3 separate regions of the Homo sapiens genome follow, and all the other regions are linked to region 3. Evidence: promoter capture Hi-C in 16 types of primary human blood cells and fetal thymus (Javierre and others, 2016). All regions are on one chromosome and are shown on one strand. Each heading gives the region's core, a stretch centred on a gene start or on the middle of the fragment in contact. The rest is flanking DNA. Distances are from core to core; before and after follow the strand shown.

Region 1 (4,424 bases), core at 843-3,342, 210 kb before region 3:
TTTTGAGCTGTTCTATTGCTCAATAAAGCTACTCTTTGTCTTGCTCACTCTTCACTTGTCTGCGTACCTCATTCTTCCTGTCGCAGGACAAGAACTCAGGACCCACCAAATGGTGAGGCTAAAAGAGCTGTAACAAACGGGGGTGAGACATGACCCTTGCTTGCCACGTTGTGGGTGAAGGCAAGGAAAGAAGAACTGCAGCCCTTCGGGGAGCCTAGCCCTGGGAGCTCCCCAAGCCAGGGCTGTGACTTCCTCTTTGAGGACCTGCTGTTCCTGGCATCTCCAAGCTTCCAGGCACCAATGTGTCCCCCAGTGCCAGCTGTGGAAGCTGCTTGCCATGTGCCTGGTCCGGCCGCAGGCTTGCAGGGAAATGGTGCCATGCTGGCACCTGGAACTGCCCGCCCCACTGCAGCACCCGGAATGTCTGACTGTGCACAGTGGCTGGACCCAATGCTCACTCACATACCCCTAACTGTTCCACGCCTGTCTCACCCTTGGCAGGCATGGGACCCAGGCTGGTAGCGTGAGCCAAGCACAGGCTGCCAGGCTGGGTAGGCGAAACAAGCCCAGAGGGCCTGAGCAAAACTGGGGCAAAAGCACCACCAGCCACAGAGGTTTCTGGCCAGAAAAAGGACGCCCCAAAGATCCCGTAACAATAGGACAAGCACCAAAAATGATAACTGGGCGCAGTGGCTCACGCCTGTAATCCCAGCACTTTGGGAGGCCAAGGCAGGAGGATCACCTGAGGTCAGGAGTTTGAGACCAGCCTGGCCAACATGGTGAAACTCTGTCTCTACTAAAAATACAAAAATCAGCCGGGCGTGGTGACAGGTGTCTGTAATCCCAGCTACTCAGGAGGCTGAGACAGGGGAATCGCTTGAACCTGGGAAGCGGAGTTTGCAGTGAGCCGAGATCACACCACTGCACTCTAGCCTGGGTGACAGAGCAAGACTCCATCTCAATCAATCAATCAATCAATAACTGGGCTGGGTGCAGTGGCTCATGTCTGTAATCCCAGCACTTTGGGAGGCCAAGGCAGGAGGATCACTTGAGGCCAGGAGTTTGAGACCAGCCTGGGCAAAACATGGTGAGACCCTGTCTCTACAAAAAAATTAAAAATTAGCCAGGTGTGATGGCACGTGCTTGTAGTCCCAGTTACTTGGGAGGCTGAGATGAGAGAATCACTTGAGCCCGGGAGGTCAAGGTTGCAGTGAGCTTTGTGCCACTGCACTCCAGCCTGAAAAAGAGTGAGACCCGTCTCAAAAAGAAAAAAAAGATAACTAGCAATAATTGAGTATATCACATATGTGTTAAATTATGAGTTCATAATGGTACTTTAAAAAAAACCTCATCGGTCAACTTTGGAAGATGCTGGGGAACCAACTCATTACTTTGAAAGCTGGTAAAATAAGTGAGAAACAATCAAGTATTTATTCTGCCTTTCCTAGGAAATGTATCTCTGTGTAACAAATAGTTAATGTGGAAAAGTTTCTCCTTATAGAATTATTCTACCTAATACTTCTATAGGAATTCATTCAAAGAAGGAATGATAATATTATTTTCTAACTTTTTATTTATTTTGAGACAGGGTCTTGCTATGATGCCCAGGCTGGACTCGAACTCCTGGGCTCAAGCAACCCTCTCGGCTCAACTTCCCATGTAGTTGGGACTATAGTCGCGTGCCACCATGCCCAGCTTTAACTCCTCTATTAATGAACCTAGACCAGTGGTTCTTATTCAGGGTCAATTTTGTCCCCCAGAGGACAAATGGCAATGTCTAGACACATTTTTTTATTGTTACAGTCAGGAGGAGGTGCTACTGGCATCCATTAGGTAGAGGCCAGAGATGCTGCTAAGCATCCTACAATACACAGGACAGCCCCTACAATAAAGAATTTTCCAGCCCAAAATGTCAATAGTGCCACGGTTGAGAAACAAATATCAGTTATTAAAATCACAAAAAGACCACCACTGTATACCTCCTGTATACCTCCTGATAGAAGTGCTAAAACCATCTACAAATTAGTTTTGCCAAAAGAAATCTAAATTTGATTAAGTTACCAATTTATATCAAATACAGAGGATGGAGGAACATGCTAAATTACCACAGAAATCAAGACTCTAAGAAACTCTACAGGACAAATGAACCAGTTTTAAAAAATAGTAAGAAAAAAGATGGAGAATAAGCATAGATCTGCAAAGACTTAAGAAACATATGGCTGGGTGTGGTGGCTCACACCTATAATCCCAGCACTTTGGGAGGCCAAGGCGAATGGAATGCTTGAGCCCAGGAGTTGAGACCAGCCTGGGCAACGTGGCAAACCCCATCTCTACAAAAATACAAAAATTAGACAGGTGTGGTGGTACCCACACCTCAGTAGTCCCAGCCACTCAGAAGGCTGAGGCAGGATTGCTTGAGCCTCGGGGGTGGAGGTTGCTGTGAGCCGAGATCAACCCACTGCACTCCATCCTGGGTGATAGAGCCAGACCCTGTCTCACAAAAAGAGAGACAGACAGACAGACATATCACCTGCAAAGTACAGACCTAATTTAGATTTTGATTCAAATAAACAATTTTTAAAAATCAAACGTAAGACAGTGAGGGAAATGTAAACAACTGGATGCTTGATGACATGAAGGAACTATTGTTTTTTTTTGGTGTGACAATACTGTGATTTGGTTTTAAAGAAGAATCCTTATCATTTAGAGATAACGTACTGAAACATTTACAGGATGAAATGATATGTCAGAAATATACACAAATATGGAGTGGGGAAGAGGGCACGGGTATAGATGAAACAAGATTGGCCATGAATTGCTCATTGGAGAATCACTGACATAGAAGGGTAAATGAAAGTAGGTACTTTCACCTGGGCCAGGTCAAATATGGCAACAGTACAACTGAGGCAAAGGAAAGCCAATTTTGCACTATGGGTTTCCAACAAAATGGTCTTACTAATCCAAGGTAAATAAACATTCATTTTTCTATTCTGTGTGTGTGTGTTAAGACATTTTCCACCATACAAACAACAACAAAAGGTTTTTTTGAGACAGAGTCCCGCTCTTGTCGCCTAGACAGGAGTGTAATGGCGCGATCTTGGCTCACTGCAACCTCCGCCTCCCGGGTTCAAGCGATTCACCTGCCTCAGATTCCAGAGTAGCTGGAATTACAGGCGCTCGCCACATCAGGCTAATTTTTTTGTATTTTTAGTAGAGACGGGGTTTCACTACGTTGGCCAGGCTGGTCTCATCCTTTCCTGATTGAACCACAGTCACAGCCTCCTTCCTAATCAGTCTCCCGGCCTCCATACAACCACCGCAATCATCTTACAAAAAATAGGCACCTGGCTCTTTGGCTTGGCATTACCATCACCAACTACTACAGTAATTCTCAAACGTGATAAAGGGCCAGAACCCAGTGTCGGTTAAAAGATCTATGATATTAAACAAAATGAGGCATAAATTCCTAGTGTTTACAGATGTCATACAATAAAAAGCAAATTCACAAATTAGTTGTAGATGTTAACATTAATGTGATGAATGAGCGTGTGCTGAAGACCAAACGCCTCCAGAAAAAAGAACAGGATGCACGTGCCCCGTGCAATTCTGTGAGGTTGGCCTGCCTCCACCGGCTGTGGAAGGATTGCGAATGTCTCCCATTCCTCTCGCTCCAAACTTGTGCAATACCTTCCCTTGTACAGCGCACCAAGACAGCATCTGGCCTTCTCTTGACTCTAAGGCATCATGTATCATTTATGACCGTCTTTATTCTTTTCTCAGTAGCCCTCGACAAGCGAGTAGTATTTCTTGGCTCCAAGTCTCATAAACGTGTAACCAGACTCCATTGGAAGACGGTAACCCCACGCGATACGGACTGTGCTTGTATTAATTCTCTTTTAAGCTTACTACAGAAATATCAATACAGTACTTGAGAATTCCTGCAGGACTCAGCCTCGCTTCCTCGAGGAGCTCTCAGCCTGCCTCCGCACTCGAGACGGCAGCTTTCTCTCCCTCCGCCCACCGTTCCGCCGCTAGGTGGCAGGCGGCTCAACGACGCCCTTTTAAACCGTTTGCCCCGGAGTGGACCGCCGGGATCGCGTGTCACCACCCAACCCTAGCGATGATTGGCTATTTCGCCGAGGCCGGAGGAGGAACCAGCGGCAGAACCGGAAGCGTCTGGTACGGCGAGTGCACGGAGTCCTGAGACTGCGTGCGCACCCAGGCACCGCGCCGACTTAAAGAGGCCAGTTGCAGCCCCTCCTCCGGCCTTAGGGGGCAGACCGTGTTCCTACGTGGAGGGCGGAACCCTCACACTGAGGAGGGCTGGGTCACACTGAGGGGAGGAGTCACCTTGAGAGGAGGGGTCACAATGACTAGTGGATTTCCTCGGAGGTGGGGTCTCACTGCGTGGGAGGAACACAGAG
Region 2 (4,466 bases), core at 1,090-3,589, 190 kb before region 3:
CTGTGGGGAGGAAAAAGGAAGGGGGAAAAGGTCCTCACCACATGCCAACAGCTCGGATGATTGGTGGTGTGTGGCAGGACACTGCCAGGGACCCTAGAGCTCTGCCAATAGCTCCGCCCAGCCAGCCCTAGAGGAAGTGGCCACTGAGGCAAAGCTGTGACCTCAAAAATGTACTTGTAGAGAGGCACGTGTGCATGTGTGTGCATGGATATGCATGTTCCCAGGACTTTGCAGTCTGTTAGGGCATCTGTGAGGTGAGCGGCTATGTCAGAGCCTGCCTGGAGGAGGAAGCCTTCTGTGGGCTGAAGGCTGCCTGTGATCACTGTTATTTTCCATGGCAGAGAATGACGGGTCATTTTCAGAAAAGTCGTCAAAGGTCATCACAAGAGATCCTACAAGTATTTCCTTTTTGAAGCTCACTGTTTCCTAAGGTGCCTCTGCAGCTGTTAACTGTCCTTGCTTGATTAAAGTTTCCAACAACCTAGACCTTCCCCCAGATACAGAGAGTGGTATGTGGTGGTGACTCCCTGGGGACCTCAGGGGCCCTGAGAGTGAGTGGGAGGGTATAGAGCAGCTGGTGGCAGGGGTGGGTGGGGTGGGAAGAGTCAAATACTTGAACCTGTGGTGTACAGGGGGTGGGTGTGGGCAGTGTGTGAGTAAATCAATTGCAGGAACATTTGCAGGAGTTCCACAAACTGTAGAATGTCCCAGTTTTCAGATCCAATACACAGGTGAACATGATGTAGATGCCAGGTAAAATGCCAAAACCAAGCTTCTAGTCTGCACTCAAAAAGGTGTCTGTGGCCAACATAGTGAAACCCCGTCTCTACTACAAAATACAAAAAAATTAGCCTGGTGTGGTGGCTCGAACCTGTAGTCCCAGCTACTCAGGAGGCTGAGGCAGGAGAATCGCTTGAACCCAGGAGGTGGAGGTTGCAGTGAGCCAAGATCACACCATTGCACTCCAGCCTAGGCAACAAGAGCAAAGCTCCATCTCCAAAAAAAAAAAAAAAAATGGAATACATGGGCTTGCTGCCTAACTTGACCTGTAGAGAGGCTTAAGAAGGGGATCTCCTGGCCGGCATGGTGGCTCACACCTGTAATCCCAGCACTTTGGGAGGCTGAGGTGGGCGGATCACCTGAGGTCAGGAATTTGAGACTAGCCTGGCAAACATGGTGAAATCCCATCTGTATTAAAAATACAAAATTAGCTGAGAATGGTGGCATGTGCCTGTAATTCCAGCTACTAGGGAGGCTGAGAATTGCTTGAACCCGGGAGGCAGAGGTTGCAGTGAGCCGAGATTGTGCCCATCCTGGGCCACAGAGTGAGACTCTGTCTCCAAAAATAAAAAAAAATAAAAAAAAGAAGGGGATCCCCAGATGGAACTGCACACCGCAATATCTTGAATGTCTTAACCAGGCTTGTTCTATATTTTTCTCCTCTTTAGCTCTTTTGGTGATGGTTACATATCTTTTCATCACAGGCCGCATTCGCTTCTGTCTTAGACCAGCTTGTAGCCTTCCTTTGTGAACAGGGTAAGAGAGTAGGATCCTTCCCCTTCCCCACGTGTGTCACTTGGGGTCTTTACAGTTTTGACATTCACATTACATTTAGAGGCTGGACATCAGAAAAGATACCTGTAACTCCAAGCTGTACCTCTACTGCCCAAATATCAGGGAACTTTTAAGAGGTGAGGGGTCAGTGCTGTACATTTCAGCTTTTCCAGAACCATACTATCATCATCTGAGAGCCTGGAGGGCAGACACTAACACCCATGTTTTGCCCTCTCCTGGCCTCCCCACTACTCATTACAGGGAATGGGTGTTTACGGTTGACAAGAGGAGGGGGCCCAACCATGAGGGCATCAGATAGAATTTGCCATGTGGAAGGGGGCTCACCTGATCAACTTTGTGTCATTGATACAGTCTATGTCAGGACATCGGGAGCATCTCCTAAGACTCTGAAAGTCAGGCTATATCTGTCTTCATTACTTTAACCCACTGGCCTCCGGGAAGCCCTAGTTTACTGACAGGGTGTGGTAGCCAGAATAATGGCCTCCCAAAAATGTTCACACCCGAATCCCCAGAACCTGTGACTATGTCACTTTACCTGACAAAATGTAGATGTGGCTATGTTAATCAAGGTCCTTTAGATAGAGAGATTATCCTGTTTTATCTTGGTAGGCACACTCTGATCACATGAGTCCTTGAAAGGGAGAACCTTTCCCATCATGGGAAGAAAGAGATTCGGTGAGGGAAGGAGGGCCAGAGAGACGCCACAGGAGAAACACTCAACCCATAGGTCCTGATTTTGAAGGTGCAGGAAGAGGACCTTGAGCCAAGGAATGCAAGAAGCCTCTGAGAGCTGGAAAAGGCAAGGAAGCAGATTTTCCCCTTCAGCATCCAGAAAGGAACCAGCCCTGCAGACACCTTGACTTTAGCCCAGTGAGACCTGTGTCGACCTGATCTCCACAACTGTAAGACAATAAATTTGTATTGTTTAAGCCACCAAGTGTGTAATTTATTAGAGCAGCAAGAGTTTCGTGAACTGTGGAGGAAGCATGATGTAATAGAAAGAATAGGGAGACTCTGGTTAAAGAGACCAGCCTTGCCACAGTATGTGACTTTGGGCAAGTGACAGTTTTCCATCTGTAAAATACAAGATAGTCTGACCTCAATCAAGAGTATGATTGCTGGAGACACACTAGGTGTGGACTTTACAAACGCCTCTTTAAAATCTGTCACAAAGGCTTCAGAGTCAGGAGGGAGAAAAATGGGCCACCTGATTGCACCATGAGGGAGACTTGGATTTCTTTGATCACTGAAGCCAAAGAGTACAGATAGGTCTTCGGTGACTTGCCCCAGGCCTCTCCTTGGTCCTGCCTCAAATGGTGACACAGAAAGCACGTTCTCTGTGCTTAATGGCACAGAGCTGAAAAGCAAATACATCAAAAGGCCAACTCAAGATTCAAGCCTTGCAACAAGGCAAAATGATGGCTCCAAACCACAGAATGAAATGTCATAAAAATAATAACAGCAGGCCAGGCACGATGGCTCACGCCTGTTATCCCTTGGGAAGCCAAGGTGCACAGATCACAAGGTCAGAATTTCGAGACCAGCCTGGCCAATATGGTGAAACCCCGTCTCTACTAATAATACAAAAATTAGCCGGGCATGGCGGCGCACACCTGTAGTCCCAGCTACCCAGGAGGCTGAAGCAAAAGAATCGCTTAAACCCGGGAGGCAGAGGTTGCAGTGAGCCAAGGTGGTGCCACTGCACTCCAGCCTGGGTGACAGAGCGAGACTCTGTCTCAAAAAAAATAATAATAATAATAATAATAATAACAGCAAAGTCAGGCACAATGGCTCATGCCTATAATCCCAAGACTTTGGGAAGCTGAGGTGGGAGGATCACTTGGGCCTAGGAATTCGAGACCAGACTGGCCAACACAGCGAGACTCCATCTCTACAAAAAATTTAAAAATTAGGCAGGTGTGATGGCACATGCTTATGGTCTCAGCTTCTTGGGAGGCTGAGTGGGGAGGATTGTTTGAGCCCAGGAGGGCGAGGCTGCTGTCAGCCATGTTTGTGCCACTGCACTCTGGCCTGGGCAGCAGTGAAACCCTCCCTCAAAAAATAAATGAATCAAAATTAAAATAAAAAAAAGATAATACAGCAAGCATTTATTGAAAAATGAAATTTGGAATTCAAAAAATAAATTGCATAAGCATAGGATGGAGGGAGTCCTGGGTTAACAATTGTTTATGTAACAAAGTTTGAGGAGAAAGGCAGTTATTATTTTACACTTGAAGGGATCTTAGAGAGCCCAGCCTGCTTATTTTACAAATTGGGAAACTGGACTCAGCAGGCTGTAAGCGCCTTATAAACTGACCCAGTGACTGGAAAGAAGCTTGTGACAAAAGGCTGCCACATAGAACTGTAGCCCCCTTACCAAATACATCTAACATTGTGCCAGCCACACCTATAGCCCTTTTTTTTTGTTTTGTTTTTTACTTTGTGTTTTTTATCCCATACTTAAATACTACCTATAGCCCTTTTTAAGCAGGCAAACCCCTGCTGATGAGGCAGCCCTAGTCCCCAGAAATTGTGTCTTGTGACCTCCAACCCCTTTGACCTCAGCTGATTAAAATTAGCAAGCGAGGCCTGGCGCAGTGGCTCACACCTATAATCCCAGCTCTTTGGGAGGCCGAGGCAGGCGGATCACCTGAGGTCAGGAGTTCAAGACCAGCCTGGCCAACATGGCGAAACCCCGTCTCTACTAAAAATACAAAATTAGCTGGGCATAGTGGTACATGCGTAATCCCAGCTACTCAGGAGGCTGAGGCAAGAGAATAGCTTGAACCCAGGAGGCGGAGCTTGCAGTGAGCCGAGATTCCACCACTGCACTCCAGCCTGGGTGACAGAGCAAGACTCCGTCTCAGAAAAAAATGGGTTAAAAAGACAAA
Region 3 (4,485 bases), core at 1,284-3,783:
AGTTCATTCTCAAAAGTGAGTGGGGTCTTTAACAAATGTTAAGGATGAAAATAAACAAACTAGCTTGAGCAAAATGGTGAGACGTAGAATAGTGAAAAGGCAGCCGCTTTTGTTTGGGTGTGATTACTCCTCCTCTAATAAAAGACCCTCATATTGACCACCCTCCTCCTAAGCGCCCTTAGAACCTGGTTTGACCTCTGAAGAAGGGCCAGGATTGGCTTTCAGTTTCTTCCTACTCATTTAGGCTCATTCCTACTGTTACTTTTCTAGAAGCTTGACCTAGGGTGGACCACTTGTCAAGAAGACTTACATATCTGCAGGCAACATTTAACCACAGGTTGGACCTCCTCAGTGTCTTTCACTCAGACCAGTCAAGGGGCATCATAGCCCTGAATCAGTTTTCTTTCCCCTTTGTGGTATAAAATTTTATATTAAAGACAGGAGAGCATAATTAAGGGAGAACAGTTTTATTAGCATCACAGGGTCCATTTTTCCCTTTCCATCCAAGCATCCAGAGTCTGGTGTCCTTTAATCAGTTGGCAGGTTCAACCTGGAGGCCACTGGAGCTGCCGGCCCCCAAGTACATGAATGTGCAGATGATACACAGATTGTGCACCCAGCTTCCCATCGTTGATCACTGAAATTGAGCTTGGGGTTAGGGAGTCAGGATCATGGCAGAGGTCGAAGAATGAAGATCATATTGAGAAGTAGGAATGAGAATTCATAGGTGAGGGACCAAGGGCCAAAAGTCACTCACCAAGTCGGTATCCATCTCCCAGGCCCTCAGCCTTTGCTGTCTGCTTGGCCACAAGGAGTAGGTGTCCTAGAAGCTATAGAGAGAGCGGAGGGACATAGGTGGCTTCATTCATAGGGAGCAAGACCTCTAGCTGGGTCCAGGGGCTCCTCCCAGCCAAACCCTGGCCCTGTTCTTCCCACCTGCTGGTCTTCTTCTTCAGCCTGGCTAATCCGAGGAATGGGCTTCTTAGGAATGACCAGGAAGTGCACAGGAGCCTGAGGGGCCACATCACGGAACACAAGACACTGGGGGAAGTGACAGGCCAGAGGCCACGTTACTTCAACAGGTTGGATGGTATCTACAACATTCCTAAGGGGATAGGTCCTAAGAGCACCCCACCTGCTGGTCCTCATAGAGAATGTCAGCTGGGAGGCTCTTGTCCAGGATCCGGGAGAAGATGGTTGGGGCTGCTCCCCCAGGAGTTGCCTGCTGGGCCTTGGCCACTTCATTCCCATCAGTCACACCTGCAGCTCCTCGGACCTGAAGGTGGATCGACCATATTCAAAGGAGGGAGCTGGCAGAAGCTGGGCTCTGATAGTTGTTAATTTCGTCCTTCTAATAACCTATTCATCGTTCCCACCCAGGAGGAAAGTTCCTGAATTTCAGAGCACCAGCAGCAAAGGGTAGGGCCAGAAGGTGCTGGACCTGGTTAGATAACAGGCGGTATTATTATCAGGATTCAGCAGTGCAATTGATTCCTGCTCATGTGTCCACGAAATATAGCACTGTTTAGGGAAAGGATCTAGAATGAGAGACTGGGGATTTTGGTCTCAGTTCCTACCTTACCATACCACTGAATTACCTCAGATAAATTCCTTCTCTCAGCTTCTAATATAAAATAAAGGGATGGTTTCCATAATCTCTTGCGATGGCTTGAATCTCTTTCCACTCTCACCTTGTTAGTACATTTCCACTTATTTCCGTTACTTGTTTTCTGATCTTTAAGCCTTGTCGCCTGTTTTATTTAAGTTTTAATGCAATCGCCCTGTTTGACACTAGTTGACCCCTCATCTGGGTGTCACATGTGACTCTGTGAATTTTAACTCTTGTCCCTTGAATGAGTGGAGGTAAGAGTTCAGCTAAGTGACCTCTGCTCCCCTAGCCCCAGGGAACTTCGGGTAAGGGATTCAGAGAAGGCTGATGTCATTGCATCACGTTGGGGGAGAACGGGACGGAATGAATTCTCTGACCTCCGAGCCGCTTCTGGCAAGTGCAGAAGAGAGGTTAACACTAGTGCTCATTAGGAGGCCAGAAGCCTGAGGAGGGCAGAGCACTGGCTCCAAGAAGAGAAAGCTCATTTCCTGCAGGGGGCATCGGGCCAGCTGGGCTGCAGGCAGTGGAAAGAAGGCGGCAGCCGCTGCACTGACCCTGTCCCGACCTCGGCGCCCCGGCCTGCGCAGGGCGGGAATCAGCACCAGCTCGTTCTCCGGAGCCACCAGTTCGACCTCACCACACAGCCCCGGAGCTTGTGCCTCGGAGGGGCAGAGGCCACAGGCAGGAGCTCTGCGCGGCTCTGCGCGCCTTCGGGACCCCCTGGCCCCGGATGGCTTCGGAGCCCGCAGGACCCCCTACTCGCTCCCGCGCCACTTCTCACCTGCCCCCCGCGCACCCCCGTGGCCGCCACGGCTCTGCGCGCCGCGCGCAACCCAGCAGCCAGCACCACGGCTGCCGCCATCTTCCCTGAGCCGCGGGAACCTCTCACCCGGGTCAGCACTCGGCTCCGCGGCCGGCCGTGGGTGGGGACTCCGGGCGCGGGGAAGCGGGGTAGTGGCGGCCGGGCGAGCCCTGCTACCCCATTGGAGCGCGCCTCTGAGCACGATTCACCCCATTGCCTCTGCAGCCACTTTGGAGGCGGGCTCTTTTCATCTCATTGGCTGCTTCTACCAACGCGAGGACAATTTTCCATTCCATTGGTTTCGTCTTCTAGTCCGTGTGAACGTTCTTTTCCCATTGGATCCCCTTACTAGTTTCTCTGTGAGAGAAACTTCCACTCCATTGGAAGGATTAATGGAGCCTGGAGGTGGGATTTTCTCCTAGTTGAATCTGATACACAACTCTGGCTTCTAGGTTGCGGCTCCCGAGTGGGTGGTTCTTTTCGTTCTTGGTTCGTCCTCTTCAGGTCTGGTTCCTATTGGTGCGCGGGGAGAAGGGGGCGGGGCTCCGCCACCTGCTGCAGAAAGGGCTGTTTTAGACCCTCTCACCGCTTTGGCCAGGAGGAGGGCGGGGCTCTGAGGGCATCCGGCGCTTATTGGCTCCAAGAACCACCCGGGGTGGGGCTAAAGGTGAACGGGGATGAGGTGTGTTTTTTTGTGTTTGTTTGTTTGTTTTAACTGGCGGGGCTGATGCGCAGCATTTTCTCCACAAGGGCAGTTTCAGTCCCTTGAGCATTTTGGAGATTTTAATGTACTTATCTAAGGGAAATTCTTCCTTAATTCTATGTTCTTGTTAACGCATTCACTCCATAGATTAAAAAGTCTGTGGTTTTTGCATTTTTTTTTTTTGAGCAGGAGGAGATAAGAGTGTCCTATATTTGCCGCACAAGAATTATAATAAGCAAAGGAGTATGTATTCATTGTTCTTTTCTAATCGGAAAAGGTGTGTGATACAGTTAGCTCGGTGCCTGGTGTTTTCTTTTTTTTTCTTTTTTTCTTTTTTCTTTTTTTTTTTTTTTGAGACGGAGTCTCGCTCTGTCGCCCAGGCTGGAGTGCAGTGGCGCGATCTCGGCTCACTGCAAGCTCCGCCTCCCGAGTTCACGCCATTCTCCTGCCTCAGCCTCCCGAGTAGCTGGGACTACAGGCACCCGCCACCACGCCCGGCTAATTTTTTGTATTTTTATTAGAGACGGGGTTTCACCGTGTTAGCCAGGATGGTCTCGATCTCCTGACCTCGTGATCCTCCTGCCTCGGCCTCCCAAGGTGCTGGGATTACAGGTATGAGGCACCAATAAGTCAGGTTTGCACTGCTGGAATATATATTTTTGACATAAGAAACGTGGGGTCACAAAATACTAATATTCTCAGACGCTAGGTAAGTTTTAGTCTGATATCACATAGGACAAGTTACCACTGTTTCTTTGGTTTTTCTTTTTTTCTTTTTTTTTTTTTTAAACACATGACCTGATACATATAGGTGGTCAGTAATTGTTGAATGAATAACATTTGGTGTTTCCTGTCTTTTTTTCATAATATGTAATATGTATTGCATATGATACTAACCCATGTGTAATCAATTTTTCATATTTTTACAGTCTACGTAAATATAGTTTGTATTGGCTGCTTATTATTTCCTTCAATGAGTTTATCATAGTAATCCTAACTCTATTGTTGACTATTAGTTGAATTAGTTTTAGGTGAATGGTTATCATGGGGCATATAACCACTGTTGGGGAACTTTGCTTCTAGAGATATAACAATCTCTTTTGTATAGCTATATTATTGTTAGAAAATCCTTTCTCCTCTAAAGGGCAGACATTTGATTCTGTGATTTTCCCCAGGGATCCTAGCAGTCCAGATTGCATTCCTTCCCTTGGAGGAACAGATGGCCCCCCTAATTGTGAGGAAATGTAGAATGGCCTCTTCTCTGGGCCCCAGAGGCTGCAGTTCTCTGTGGTGCCTCTGGGACACTGGGAGACCCTAGAGTTGCCCTGGAGAAGGGCGAGAGATAAGTGGATCTGGGATCTAGGAAGAGGA

The links. Contacts are between HindIII fragments. The CHiCAGO score rates a contact against its expected background, and 5 or more counts as called.
Region 1: a contact is called between a fragment that was not itself captured here and the fragment with the promoter of HINT2 in region 3, in 6 of 17 cell types (fetal thymus, naive B cells, total CD8 T cells and 3 more). The highest score is 7.4, in fetal thymus.
Region 2: a contact is called between a fragment that was not itself captured here and the fragment with the promoter of HINT2 in region 3, in 1 of 17 cell types (fetal thymus). The highest score is 5.4, in fetal thymus.

The regions. Positions count from the first base shown.
Region 1 is chr9:35,600,018-35,604,441 of GRCh38, forward strand. No RefSeq gene overlaps it. Among named protein-coding and RNA genes, the nearest start is that of TESK1, 3.0 kb to the right of the region's middle. The HindIII fragment of the contact is 3,614 bases long and covers 286-3,899 here.
Region 2 is chr9:35,619,474-35,623,939 of GRCh38, forward strand. LOC124902148 (a long non-coding RNA gene) reads left to right here and starts at 1,448. Exons shown (of 2, transcript XR_007061470.1): 1 at 1,448-1,536; 2 at 2,185-2,508. It also overlaps a transcript of CD72 not described here. The HindIII fragment of the contact is 3,138 bases long and covers 771-3,908 here.
Region 3 is chr9:35,812,509-35,816,993 of GRCh38, forward strand. HINT2 (histidine triad nucleotide binding protein 2) reads right to left here and starts at 2,534. Exons shown (of 5, transcript NM_032593.3): 1 at 2,391-2,534; 2 at 1,136-1,276; 3 at 937-1,041; 4 at 758-830; 5 at 452-637. The coding sequence starts at 2,471. The coding sequence ends at 546. FAM221B (family with sequence similarity 221 member B) reads right to left here. Exons shown (of 7, transcript NM_001012446.4): 7 at 3,883-4,485. RefSeq lists silencers at 2,347-2,666, 2,997-3,176 and an enhancer at 2,727-2,906. The HindIII fragment of the contact is 5,278 bases long and covers 272-4,485 here.